3 separate regions of the Homo sapiens genome follow, and regions 2 and 3 are each linked to region 1. Evidence: promoter capture Hi-C in 16 types of primary human blood cells and fetal thymus (Javierre and others, 2016). All regions are on one chromosome and are shown on one strand. The core of a region is centred on a gene start or on the middle of the fragment in contact, and the rest is flanking DNA. Distances in the headings are between cores, read along the strand shown.

The links. Contacts are between HindIII fragments. The CHiCAGO score rates a contact against its expected background, and 5 or more counts as called.
Region 2: a fragment that was not itself captured here is called in contact with the fragment with the promoter of TAS2R38 in region 1 in 1 of 17 cell types (erythroblasts); the score reaches 5.2 in erythroblasts.
Region 3: a contact is called between a fragment that was not itself captured here and the fragment with the promoter of TAS2R38 in region 1, in 3 of 17 cell types (naive B cells, M1 macrophages and total B cells). The highest score is 6.4, in naive B cells.

The regions. Positions count from the first base shown.
Region 1 is chr7:141,972,035-141,976,640 of GRCh38, forward strand. It overlaps TAS2R38 (taste 2 receptor member 38), which reads right to left and starts at 1,739. Exons shown (of 1, transcript NM_176817.5): 1 at 597-1,739. The coding sequence starts at 1,655. The coding sequence ends at 654. The HindIII fragment of the contact is 7,298 bases long and covers 1-3,836 here.
Region 2 is chr7:142,367,399-142,372,194 of GRCh38, forward strand. It overlaps TRB. Among named protein-coding and RNA genes, the nearest start is that of MIR11400, 100 kb to the right of the region's middle. The HindIII fragment of the contact is 1,764 bases long and covers 1,559-3,322 here.
Region 3 is chr7:142,383,125-142,388,145 of GRCh38, forward strand. It overlaps TRB, TRBV7-3 and the pseudogene TRBV8-2. Among named protein-coding and RNA genes, the nearest start is that of MIR11400, 89 kb to the right of the region's middle. The HindIII fragment of the contact is 1,038 bases long and covers 2,338-3,375 here.

The sequences.
Region 1 (4,606 bases), core at 489-2,988:
GAGCAAATATCTGCTTCTCTTCCATCATTATAGAGTAGGTAAAAGTGCATTTCTGGATCAGTGTATTTTCAGACAAAACGACCCCTATCCTCTCGTGCCTCTTGAAGTTGAAGTTATGTGGTACCTCTTGAAGCTGGAATTATGACATAATTATCATTCCAAGTTTGTCTTTGTTTCCATGAAAATTGCGAAGTTTGAAGAGGATTATATCCTTATTGTAGTAGTGAATATTTCCAAAAATGATGCTAGCACAAGTTCCGAGAAAGAGGTTTAACAGTCATGTTAAAAGCCAAACATATTATCTTGGGATTTAGATATTATTTCAGAAGAGATGATTTCTCATGGTTTGATTTATACCAATAATAAGCTATAGTATATAAAGGATTTACACCAAATACTTAATTATTTTGTTCATTTTATCAAAACAAACCTAGGGTACCAACATTATTCTTGCCTAGGCCATGTATAGTGCTTAATTATTTTATTCATCTATAAGTGAGTTCATTGATACAAAGTGGAGAGACTTTCAATTGTGTTTTATAGAAGAAATTGGAAGGCTTTGTGAGGAATCAGAGTTGTATTCCTGAAGAATCAGAGGCATATTTATGAAGACTCACAGGCGTATTAATGAAGAGCTCATTTCATGTCCATTCTCAGCACAGTGTCCGGGAATCTGCCTTGTGGTCGGCTCTTACCTTCAGGCTGCTCTGAGCCCAGAGCAGAATGGTCATCACAGCTCTCCTCAACTTGGCATTGCCTGAGATCAGGATGGCTGCATGCCCAGAGGGACAAGCTGCCATTATCCCAACACAAACCATCACCCCTATTTTGTCGCGCCACAGAATCAGTAGGGGCACAGAGATGAAGGCAGCACAGGATGATATCACAAAGAAGCAGAAAAAGGAGACAAGAGACTTGAGGGCTTTAATGTGGGCCTCCAGGCTGGGGTCACGAGAGTTTCTGGTATAGACCTTCATTGTCCTCATGTGCCTTCCCAGGGAGACAGTCAGCATCCCAGAAGAAACCAGAAACAATAGGAAAGGAGGCACAGACCACAGATAGCAGAAGAGAAAGGAATAAAATAAATTGAGATCTTTAATCTGCCAGTTGAGCCTTGTATTGTTATTCATGAATAGCACAGTTGTGACTGTGAAGTGAGGTCTGCTAAAAAAGCACCAAACACAGAGGACAGTGCAGATGCAGGAGCAAAGAATAATACCCAGGAGCATCTGGGAGATCTTCCTGGAGACCCAGCTTGCCAAGCAGATCAGGAAGGTGTGAGAGAAACGGATGAGCTTGGAGCAGTAAAGCAGGCTGAGGCAGGCAGCAAGCCAGAGGTTGGCTTGGTTTGCAATCATCCATAGCATGATGATGGCTTGGTAGCTGTGGTTCAGTGGTTCACTCAACTTCTGGAAGTGGGTAAGCTGGATAGCACTCAGGAACAGCAGTCCATGCAGGAAAAGCCGGCTGATGCTGAGACACAGCAGCACACAATCACTGTTGCTCAGTGCCTGCCTCTTCACTACATCCCAAAAATTCACCAAGAAAACGAAGGCATTGGTCAGAAACCCCACTGCAAACTCCAGGACTGAAATGAACAGAAATGTACTCCTGACTTCATAGGACACAGTGCGGATGCGAGTTAGAGTCAACATGATGTCACTTCTCTAATTGGCTATTCTACTTCTCTTCTCTAGTTGGCTAATCTAAAGACCTGGTTGCCACCCAGTGCAGAAAGGTAAATGTACGTTCCAAGCCAGGACCTTTCCTTCACAAAGCATCCAGCTCTTTGCCTAGATCTATCCCAAAGCGAGCGCATAAAAAGTTCTGGCAGGAAACTTAGAGGGATGTTGTTTCTCTAGAACATCTCTTGGATACACGTAAGAGCTTATCATAGGGTGGAAGACTGATGGTTCTACCTCTTGGGTGATGCAAGATTAATAAATCCAGGTGTTCCTGTACAACCGCCTTCCCAGAAGGCCATAGCACAGCATCACGGATGCAAACAAAACAGGGCCTCAATTTCCCCAATCCAGTTTTGCATGCCCATCTGGACCTGTGGGGGTGGCGAAGAGAACAGGATTTGCTTATGGGTTTTGAGGCACCCTGCAGCAGGCAAAGCAGATATTCTTGGTGATCTAAGGTTTGAAATAGAGTCTCTTTTCATTTGCATTCCTTCTCTCATCTGTGAAGTAATGACTCTTATCACAGACTGTGTTTTTAATATAGATAAATGCATGGTTCCTTTCCATGTGTCAGTGTATGATTGCAGTTTTATTTGCTGTTGCCAAAGGTTTCATGCAATCATCATTATTATGCCAGGCACTGTGCCTGGCAAGGAGAATATTAACATGAACAAGACTAGCACGCTGTCATGAAGGGAGAGGAAAGGGGGCATAGCTGGTTTGGATTATTATTATGTTTATTTTTTAATTAGTATAAGTTCTGGGGTACATGTGCAGAACATGCAGGCTTGTTACATAGGCATACACCTGCCATGGTGGTTCGCTGCACCCATCAACCCGTTATCTATATTAGGTATTTCTCCTAATGGTCTCCTTCCCCTTGCCCCCTACCCCCTGACAGGCCCTGGTGTTTGATGTTCCCCTCCCTGTGTCCATGTGTTCTCATTGTTCAACTGCCACTTATGAGTGAATTTCCCCCGATAAATCCTTTAAGAGTTATTGGTGCTGCCCCATTGGTGTTTTTCGATACTTTCTCTTTGTATTTTTTATGTTTTCTTTTGACTAAAGCTCCTTTTTTATTATTAGTAGTGACATAAGTCAGTGATTACTAAAGATGTTCACTTTTGTTTTATTCTGAACTGTTCATACGCAGATATTTATGTAGTCCTTATTTGTGCATCATGATGTAGCAGTTGTATTTAATTAATTGTGTTTGTGACCACTTCATTTGGGTCATTCATGCTTACAGAGTGTCAAACACAGAATTCTGCACTTTCAACTTAAGCTAATTTTCTCCTTGTCTTCACCACACCAGGTGGCGGTGTTGCACTAAAGGTGTTTAGAAAAGATGTTTGCCTCCCTAAAAAGTCTAGGTAGAAACTTGCTCTACTGCACAAGCAGAGATATATAACTATACAGTTAGAACCATTTATATCAAGATTATAATCTTTTATTAAAAAATAAAGTTCTTTATGTTATTTCTTGGAACACCAGATCCAATCTTAATTTTTCAATAATCAAGGGCTCTTTCAGAGAAAGGTAACACAAACCTTCATTGATACACCCCCTCCATTTGACTTATGTACACACAGTGTTTGGGATTATCTAAGTAATCTCCTTTGCAGATAGTCCTTAGCTATTGGCTATTTTTTGAAAAATGGTTTACTCAGGAAGCTAAAAACAGTAAAGTCAACTGCAATGCCAGTAAGAGCAGTGGTAGGAACACAAAAGCTCCTTATTTGTTATTAGTAGTGATATAAGTCAGTGACTACATCTTTATCAGATGTAATTAAAAAAATCTTAGTCCCTGGATTTTGCAACTAAACAGATGTTAAAAATTCTTAACCTATATAAATTGGTGTTTCGACTTTTGCTGCCATTTATTTTTGGAGATTGGAATTACATTCTTTGGATTGATTTTTAAAAATTGGTCTTTGTTAGCTTGACAGAAGAACACTATTATTAGTAATATCAAACCTCATTCCCTTAAAATACCTTGCTTAGATGTTTCCAATGACTAGAGAAATGGACATACCAATATATGTTTATTAAGAGCAAAATATATTCCACCTGTTGTAATGGGCATTGAGGACACACTGGTAAACAAAGGCGTATTAGAGGAACTGAAAGAGCACAGCCTTAAAGCCATAAAGCTTAAAGTAAGCCATACCTTACTTTAGAGGAAAAACACCACTAGATGACTTCAGATAGCGGAGTGAACTGAAAGAAACAATGTTGGGGGAGAGACAACGGACAGGAAACATACAATTGGGGTAGTGTCAATAGGAAACACTGGCAGTGGCCATCATCAACAGCACTCAAAACAGATGAAATGGCACCCAGGAAGTCGATGAGGCAGGAAGGAGCTCGGTGCTTTCACGGGGAGAGGGGAGGCCCGCGTGGCTGGCTTGTAGCCACAGGTGAGGCTGGAGGGCGACTTCTTCCACTACCGTGTGATTACAATATAAAGTAACTAGTGATTGGCTATCTCCCATTCTTCCCCCGTGATTGGCTATCTCCTGTTCTCCCCCTGCCGGAATTCCTAGGACAGCGAGACAGGTGGGAAACAACAGACCTAGGAGGAGTCTCTGCACCTCCAATCTCCCCAAATAATCGGGCAAAGCAATGGACTCCAGCTTTTCCAGGAAGCTCCAGCTCCCCAGCAACCGAGTCCTCCCCCATCGCTATTTAACAGCTCCCACCAGGTGGCGCCAGAACACTGCGAGGCCTGGAATTCCTGGCAGGCTCGCAGTGCATCCTCACCTCAGCCGTTTAAATCTAGCAATAATGGGGTTCCGTATCTCACGCAACTGAAATTTTAGACTCCACTTACTGCGTTATGATAGGCTGAATTTCCTTGAATCTCACAGTTGCCCTGCGAAGAATGTAGTGATATTTCCATTGTACTGATGAGAAAGTGG
Region 2 (4,796 bases), core at 1,191-3,690, 400 kb after region 1:
TCGAACTCCTGACCTCAGGTGATCTTCCTGTCTTGGCCACCCAAAGTGCTGAAATGATAGGCATGAGCCACTGCACCCAGCCAAAGTCATTAAATCTTAAATCTCCAATAGTTCTTGACTCCATGTTCCACATTCAGGGCACACACTGGTGCAAAGGGGGACTACCAAGGTCTTGGGAGTTCTTCGTCTGTGGCTTTCCAGAGTTCAGCCCCCAGGGTTGCTTTCACATGTTGTTGGGTGTTTTGGCTTGTCCAGGCACAGGGTGCAAGCTGTCAGTGACAATATCGATCTGGGGTCTGGAGGGCAGTTGTCCCCTTTCCAAAACTCCACTAGGCAATGCCCCAGTGGGATTCTGTATGGGGCCTCCAACCTCTAATTTCCTCTCTGCATTTCCCTAATAGAGATTCTCTGTAAGGTTTCCACCCTTGCAGCAGGCTTCTGCCTGATCACCAAAGATTTTCCATAATTCTCTGAAATCTAGATGAAGGCTGCCAAGCTTTCTTGATTCTTGCATTATGTACACCTGTAGGCTTGACACCACATGGAAGCCACCAAGGCTATAGCTTGCATTCTCCAAAGTGGCAACTCAAGCTGTATCTGGGCCCCTTTGAGCCACAGCTGGAGCTGGAGCAGCTGGGATGCAGGCCGATGTGTTCTGAGGCTGGGCAGAGCAGCAGGACCCTGGGCCTGGCACACAAAACTATTCACTCCTCCTAGGCTTCAGGGCTGGTGATGGGAGGTACTGCCTGGAAGATTTCTGAATTGTCTTCAGGCAATTTTCCCAAAGTCTTTGCTATTAGCACTTGGCTCTTTTTTAACTATGTTAATATCTCTAACAAGTGGTAGCTCCACAGCCTGCTTGAATTCTTCTCCCACAACATTTTCTTTATTTGCCACATGGTTAGGCTGCAAATTTTCCAAACTTTTACACTCTGCTTCCTGTTTAAATATACATTCCAGCTTTCAGTGTTTTCTTTGCTCTCACATCTGAGTGTAGGCTGTTAGAAGCAGCCAGGCCACATCTTCAACACTTTGCTGCTTATAAATTTCTTCCACCAGATACACTAGGTCATCACTCGCAAGTTCAAACTTCCACAGATTCCTAGGGCAGAGGCAAAATGCACCCAAGTTCTTTGCTAAGGCATAACATGTGTGACCTTTGCCCCAGTTCCCAATAAGTTTCTCATTTCCATCTAAGACCTCAACAGCCTGGACTTCACTTTCCATATCACTATCAGCATTTTGGTCACAACCATTTAACCAGTCTCTCAGAAATTCCAAACTTTCCATCATATTCCTGTCTTCTTCTGAGCCCTCTAAACTCTTCCAACTTTTGCCCATTACCCAGTTCCAAAGCTGCTTACACATTTTCAGTTATTTTTATAACAATACCCAACTTCTTGTATCAATTTTCTGAATTAGGCCATTCTTGCATTGCTGTAAAGAAATACCTGAGACTAGGTCATTTACAAGAAAAATGGTTTAATAGGCTCATGGTTTTTCAGGCCGTACAGAAGGCATAACACCAGCATCTGCTTCTGGTGTAGTCTCAAAAGCTTACAATCATGGAAGAAAGAAAAGGGGAGGCAGGCACATTACATGGTGAAAACAGGAACAAGAGAGAGAAAGAGAGTGTGTGGGGGAGGGAGGGAAGGTCATTTAAAACATACTTTTAAATGACCAGATCTCACAATAATTCATTCTCTATTCTGAGGACAGCATCAAGCCATAAGGGATCTGCCCCCGTGATACAAACACCCCTCACCAGCATGGGGATTACAATTCAACATGAGATTTGGGTGGGGACAAATATCCAAACTATATCCAAAGGAGTCTCACCTGGAGCTGTGGGCTGTGCTGCCTGAGGTTGGGGATGGGGTGGCATAAGCAATTTCTTGGCCACCCCAGCTGGTATCTCACTAGGTCATGTGTCCCCAAGTCCACTGACTCTGAGTTCAGCACAGCACCAAGACTTGCCCAGGAATTGTAGTCCTTGTGGCCTGGACTGTGTTTCAAGTTTATTTAGGACCCTAAGGCACTTTAGCCCATGGTAGCGAGGCTAGCCAGAACTCAGGTTCTGACTGCTGGGATAAGTGATTCCCCTCTGACTAGGGCTGGTCTAAATGTTCTTCCATGAGTGCTGGCTGAGTCCTGCCTGCTGTTGCTATCCACTGTGTGAGGACAGCAACGACTTCCAACACAAAGTCCCACAGTCACTGCACTCTCCCTAACCCAAATGCACAGACTGTCTCTCCAAGCCATATGGCCACTGCCAGGGGATGGGGGAGGCATGGTATTGGCAATTCAAGAGTGTCTTTTCTACCTCTTTAGTGCCTCTTTCAGTGATATGAAGTTAAAACCAGGTACTGTGGTCACTTAGTTGATTTTTGGTTCTTATGAAGGTGCTATTTTGTGTGGATAGTTGTTCAGTTTGATGTTCTTGTTTGGAGGAACAGTTAACGAAGGCTTCTATTTGGCCATCATGTTCTACCTTCTTCTTAATCATTCTATTGGGTCTGTAGTGATATCTCTATGCATTTTTCTATAAGTAATTATATTTACATTTTTTTCTGTTTTCATTAGTAATTTCTATCTCCTTTTTTCAAGTGTCTGCTTTTAAATTTGCCTGTTTTAAAATCTTACGTTGTTTGTTCTTATATTACTAATACGTATAATATGTTTGTATTTTTTATATAAACCTTTTGACCATTAAATATATTGAGTTAGTCTTCTCCCAGAGTGGCCTGCCTTTGTACTTTCTGAATAGAGTCTTCTCATGAACTGAAATTTTCTATTTTTTGAAGTTTAATTCATATATATTTTTCCTTTTACAGTGACTACTCTTTGCATTTCAAGGATATCTTGCCTATAACAGAATTATGAGTTGTTCCATTCTGTTACTTACTCTACTCCTCCTCATTAGTAGCCCCATCCCTTTTTCTTTGTCATCACTTGAAAATGCTAAATCTCCAAAATCACAAATTAAATATTCCACTATCTGCCTACAGCTTCTTATCCTATCATACCTGTTCTTTGATATTATTGACATCTCCTCTCCACTGGTAAATATTCTTTCTATTTCCTAGGGTCCCTACAGAATTTCTTTACTCATTCTAGAGCAGATATGAGGATGTTACGTGTTAAAAATCCTAGCTTGCAAATAGTTATTATTTTATATTGATACTCTTAGGCTTCCCTTTCATTTACAAAAATAAACAAGAATAAATGCACTGATCTCTTTGGCATGGCAGAAGCTGAATGCTGTCAGAGTAAGTCACACCGGCACAAACTGTTATCATGATAAATACATAGTCACTAAGCTTACCTGCCTTTATATCCCTGCTTTGAGATTATAGTATGGTCCTTTTACTAGCTCAGTCTTTCACCCTCCTCAAATATTGTTTCAAATATTTAAGACTTTTTTCCAGTCCCTAATTCTTCTCTTCTTGCCTCTTAAGCCAAAGGCACATCTTGTTAGGACATGCTGGACCTTGCATCTCTGCAATTAACACAGTTTTTCTACTGTGTGAAGGTGTCACCTTGAGTGAAGATGGTTCTTGTGGACGGGAACCCAGTGTGGGGCTCAACTCTAAAGGGATGTGGCAATGGGTCTGAAAATGGGTTCTCAATGAAGCATCACAGTGTCCACTATGTTTATGAAGTAGATCCACCCTGCCACAGACTTCTAGGTAAGAGGAGGTGAGCATGCATCATGATTCTCTACTAGAACCTCTTTAGATTCCATGTACTCAAGTCATACTATTTATTTTCATACTGCATATTTTAATGCTTCTCCCAACTCTTTTGGTAATGCTAATTGCATGTGATAGAATTTTTGTTACTGCTATTTGCAAAGAGTGAGAAATTGTATTATTTCTAATTGCAGAATGTTAGAACTTGTATTATTTTGTTAAAGCAAAATAAGATCTCCAAGACTCACTTTTCCATTGCTATGTCTATTAACCATGGTCCTGGAGGTATTGAGGAGGGATGAAAAGACAATTTACAAAACTGTGGCAAGGTTAAGGAACCCAGTAAGAGAAGAGAAAGGATTATGGGGATAGTATAGTGAGTGCTCTTATTCACATTGGCCTAAAATAAGTAGGAGAGTGTGTGGATCTCGGGGCTTTTGACATTTTACATTTGGGGTAAGGATGTTTGTAGGGTGCTGTGACCTTTGGTAGAGAAAAGCAATCAATATGAAATAGTCCAGCAAGGAGGCAGCCAGGAGACACACAAACCGGGACAGTTGGTTACCCTCTCTCTCTCTACTCTCCTGCCATTGTCTCTCATAAGACAAACTCACTCTGGAGTACACAAAAAGAGATGCAGTTACTATAATCCATTGGCATCAACCTCTGAAGGCAGGATGGATCTGGAGGGATAAACATAACCTGCCCAGAGGATGACTCATAGGGTGGCCTTGTGGGTGCTGAATCCCAAGTGGTTAGGTCTGTGCTGTGAGCTGATAAAGCCCCAGAATTATTTATGGGGAATCTATACTCCTAATAATTTACAGACAACACAGATCCACTTTGGACTTGATCAGATGGACAAAATCTTGGGGACTTGACATCACTGCGCACACAGGGGAGGAGCTGGGATTGTTGTCCAGGAAAGGAAAATATAAGGAGAAACCTTGGTTTGAATTTGGTGTCAGACATATGATGAGAGGACAGCCAGGAAGATCTGGAACATGAAGATTTAATTACAGGCCACTAACTCTCAGCTGACGGGCAGGTCTGTGAGTTCCAGAATGGAGCACTGCAGCAGTAGGTGGGGAGGAGGCTGAGAGG
Region 3 (5,021 bases), core at 1,607-4,106, 410 kb after region 1:
AAGGACAGAGCTGAAGAAGTTACATAGAATGCAGCACCGAAAATTAAATATGTAACTTTAGAAAGAGCTTAAGGGTGGTTTCCAGCATAGTAGAATATATAATTTTTAATTATATATATTTATTTATATAAAGTTATTTATATTTATATATTTAATTATATATTTATTATATAAAAATATATAATATAATAATATATAATATATAATATATATTATATAATATAGAATATATATTATATAATATAGAATATATAAATATATTCTATAGAATATATTATATACAATATATAAATATATATATTTCCCATTTTTCTTATAGATAATTGAAGTTTCAGGAAAAGAAAGTAGAGGGAATAAGTGATTGTGATGAGACATTAGCTGAGAATTTTCCAGAGGTGGTTCAGGACCTAAATTCTCAATTTCAAGAATTCAAATGAATATGAAATAAGATAAATGTTTATATTATAATGAGATTGTGGAACATAAGTGACAAATAGATGATTCTAAAAGCTGTCAAAAAGAAAAGATAAATCTCTCCTAGTGGAATAGACTGAAAAAATCAATGAAAGAAAGAGGATCAGAAATAACCATTTAGTAGGAATTATAATCCCCATTCATTAAACACTGAGATGGAGGAAAATATATTTACAAGTGGAAAAATTAAAAAAAAAGACTATGAGTTTTCCAATAAGGTATCTTTTCTGAATTATAGTCAACAAAGGTGGGAAGTGGTCCCAGAAGAAAGGCATGAGGTGCAGCTTGTGAGGGAACCCATGTGTTGGGACAGCCCCGTTGGGCACGTGTGACTGGGGGATGGAGGAGGCTGGGGCATCAATGGGGATGGCATAGGGGACCCTGACTTGCAGGAAAGACAATGAGCTCATCCCTTGGTGCCTTGTGTTGGGGGCGCTGTTGGCACATCCTAGAGAACATGCCCAGCAGACAGAGGAGCGCCTGTGTGGTGAGGAGATAAACTCAGAAATGCAGCATGAGGCCTGTAGCTCCAGACAGCTCTAGAGCACAAAGTGAAGACCGATGCATTGATGTTGTTTAAAGGGAGCTAATAAATATCTAAAGCAGTCATCCAAGTGTGTTCTAATATAAATCCTGTGTTCCTGAGGTTGTGGGGATTGAGAGAGGAAGTGATGTCACTGTGGGTACTGTTCTGTGTCAGGACAAGGACGTCCCTCCTCCTCTGCTCCTGCTCACAGTGACCCTGATCTGGTAAAGCTCCCATCCTGCCCTGACTCTGTCATGGGCACCAGGCTCCTCTGCTGGGCAGCCCTGTGCCTCCTGGGGGCAGGTGAGTCCTCAGACACCAACCAGTCTCATTCTGTGTGTCTGTATGTGTGTGTGTGTGTGTGTGTGTGATGAGTACAACTGTTTTCCTCATCCTGTTCTCAACTTGTGTCTCCGCAGATCACACAGGTGCTGGAGTCTCCCAGACCCCCAGTAACAAGGTCACAGAGAAGGGAAAAGATGTAGAGCTCAGGTGTGATCCAATTTCAGGTCATACTGCCCTTTACTGGTACCGACAAAGCCTGGGGCAGGGCCCAGAGTTTCTAATTTACTTCCAAGGCACGGGTGCGGCAGATGACTCAGGGCTGCCCAAAGATCGGTTCTTTGCAGTCAGGCCTGAGGGATCCGTCTCTACTCTGAAGATCCAGCGCACAGAGCAGGGGGACTCAGCCGCGTATCTCCGTGCCAGCAGCTTAACCACAGCATGACACAATCGCCTCCTTCCTGCTCATAAACCTCCTCCTCTCTCTCCTTGCTTCCTTATGATACTATTTTGCACCAGGGGATCCTCATCTCACACCACTCCACTGCCTCTTCCAGAATCATTGCTTGCATGTCCGCTGCTCAGATCAGCAGATGTGCGTTGTATATGTTAATCATTTTCTGTGGAAGGCTCGTTGCTGGTCTTCATTATCCATCCTTATTTTCCACATTGGATACTGCTCCCTTCAAGATTACTTGTTGCCTACAAAAGATCCTACTTTTTACATTCAAATTTTACTTTTTATTAATACGTATTTGATGCCATCTTGAAGGCAATCTCATTATCATCCTAATCTTTTGCTAATCTTTATGTTTATGGTAACATTGATTGTTATTTTGGGGGACATGTATTTCATCTTTGGTAATGAAATGAAATAACTATGCACTTCAATTCCTGTATGTTCTGCCTACTTAAGAGTAAATCCAATTTTCTTCCATTCCTCCCATTCTATCCCACTCCCTTTATATGATAGTTTTAAGGGAGAAAATATTAATTAGACTCTAACTGCAGCTATGTGATAAGAGTTATTTAGAATGAGGGTGGGATATTAAGCTTTGAGTAAAGCAATAGTCAGGGTTAGAACTAGTGTTGGAATCAGGGTTTAGGGAAGTTGCTCATAAAACCTGCAGGATGACACTTCTAGAATAGTCTCTCACTCACTCTGCAGACACTTCCCAGCATCCCTTGGGCCATTGCAAAAGCAATGATGAAACTTCACGTATTGGCCACAAGATGGCACTGTGGTCCACTGGGATCTAAGGGACTCTGGGGAGAGCCTGGGAGAGCAGCCTAGGAAGGGAAGGGTTAAGAAAAATTAGGGCTGGAATCCAATATTATGCAGATGTTGCAGCAGTTTTCAGTCATTGCTAGGCTACCTACAGCTATGCAAGATGCAGGAAATACCTCTAATCTTTAATGAGATCCACAGTTGAAGAATTTTGGCCTGGCAGCCTTGGTGTCAAGCGCAGGTGCAAGCAGAGGAGCAACTGCCTCAAAGGAACGTGGGAAAGCTAGGGGCGGGCTGTGCCCTAAGCTCAGTATGTCTCTGCTGCACCCCATCTTCCCTGCAGACCTCGCCGGGCAACAGCCTTCATGAGAGGAGGTGGATCCTGCCTGAGACCAGTCAGAAGGCCCTGGACCAGCTGGACTCCGTAGGCATGGGGGGTGACACCACAGGCCCACCAGACTATTCCCTAGGGAGCAGCCTCCGAGCCCCAGCTCACAGTCCTGAGGATCACTGCACTTAGTTGGGCCAGCCCCTCCTCACTCTGACCCTACCATGAACCCCAAACTCTTCTGTGTGACCCTTTGTCTCCTGGGAGCAGATAAGTTCTGGAAACAGCTGCAAAACCCTGTCATGGGTTTGCAATGTCTGGGCTACAAGCCTTTTTTGTCCTTTCTTCTGCAGAGTCCCCCTATTTCTTAAGTCTTGTCTTCACTTTCTGTCTGCCTCTCCAGCAGGCTCTATTGATGCTGGGATCACCCAGATGCCAAGATATCACATTGTACAGAAGAAAGAGATGATCCTGGAATGTGCTCAGGTTAGGAACAGTGTTCTGATATCGACAAGACCCAAGACGGGGGCTGAAGCTTATCCACTATTCAGGCAGTGGTCACAGCAGGACCAAAGTTGATGTCACAGAGGGGTACTGTGTCTCTTGAAACAAGCTTGAGCATTTCCCCAATCCTGGCATCCACCAGCACCAGCCAGACCTATCTGTACCACTGTGGCAGCACATCCGCAGCCCTGCACAGCCAGCTGCCCTCTGCACAAAAAGGGCAGTCACAGGCTGGAGGTGGGCACTCCTTATGGAAGCCCGTGTCTCAACCAGAAGAAAAAGCTGCCCTTTCTGAAGCTCTTCCCAGACTTCCCAGCAATGGGATCTCATTCTATGTGTGCTCCTGCAGCATAAAACTTAGAGTGAGCTGGGTCTGTCACTGTAGTGCGGATGTGTAAATGCAAACAACGTAATGTTATTTTGCTCAATTTGGAATATTCTGGTAATTGTGCAAAGGAATGGTAGCTTCTAACAAGAAATTCATATTTCACTTTCTTTTCAGGAGAGAAGAAAAAAGCAGAAAGCAGCTGGGAAGCTTTAGCCTGCTTGAGTGATCTGGGATTCTCAGGTAGCATACATAACATCACCTTGGCTTTGGTTCCTTTAGATACCAAGCATGTGTTCTGTGGAGGACAAGAAAATCCATTTTTTTTGTTATAAAGTTATAAACACACAAGAGAACAATCCAGTTAGGGAGAATGTTAATAAATACAACAAACTCTGCCATTAGACCTGAAGATAATCAGCTAGTAGAATTATCAAAGAGATTGTAAGACTCTTACTGAGTACCTGTTTGAGGTCCTCTGAGGATAGATGAAGGAAGGAACTTAATTCTTACCATCACTGTGGCTTGGATTAGAATCCATGAGTTCCTTAACTTGTTTTTCTTGTAAAATATTATAAAATAATATAGAACACACATTTTATTTTCCTGTAGCCTGTAGTCCTCTTTAGCACCTAAAGGGAGAAGCGCATATCCCGGTGCAAAAGGGAGCTGGTTGCTTGCTTGGCAAAAAAATGAATTCACCAATTGGCCAATCTGCTGAAAGTCAAAATGAAAGGCTAATATATGAGACTGATGACAGTTCATGGTTCTTGGTATAACTTCAACAGCGAGTGAGCATTTTTTTCTTTGTCTATAGCTTTCTTTCAGCCATCGATCCTCAGTTGTGTCTTAGCCTCTTATCAGTCCAGCTCACTTTGATACTAAATTTGATTGTTGTGTATCTCAGCAAGAAGCACGTCTCACATTCTCTGTATTTTTTGTGGTCATGAGTGTGTTCCTGTCTTATTCTTATTTTATGTGGTGCATTTCTAAATAGGACTGTACAGAATACAAGCATCTATTTGTATATGACTCTCATCTTTTATGGGGAGAGGTCAGAGTAGGTGAGCGTGCACTTTGATTCTCTGCTGGAATCTCTTTGGATTCTATGTCCCCTGTCACATGGTTTATTTTCATATGCATATTTCTCATGGTTCTCCTGACTCTTTTAGCAATGCTCATTGCAGGATATTAGAAATTGTATTACTTCTAATGGCAGAATGTTAGAAATTGTGTTGACTCTTAAGGCAAAATAAAATACCTGGACTCACCTTTCCATTGCTGTGTCTATTAGTCGTGGTCCTGGAGATATCAAGGAGGGACAAAAGGAGTATTTGCAAAGGTGTGGCAGGGT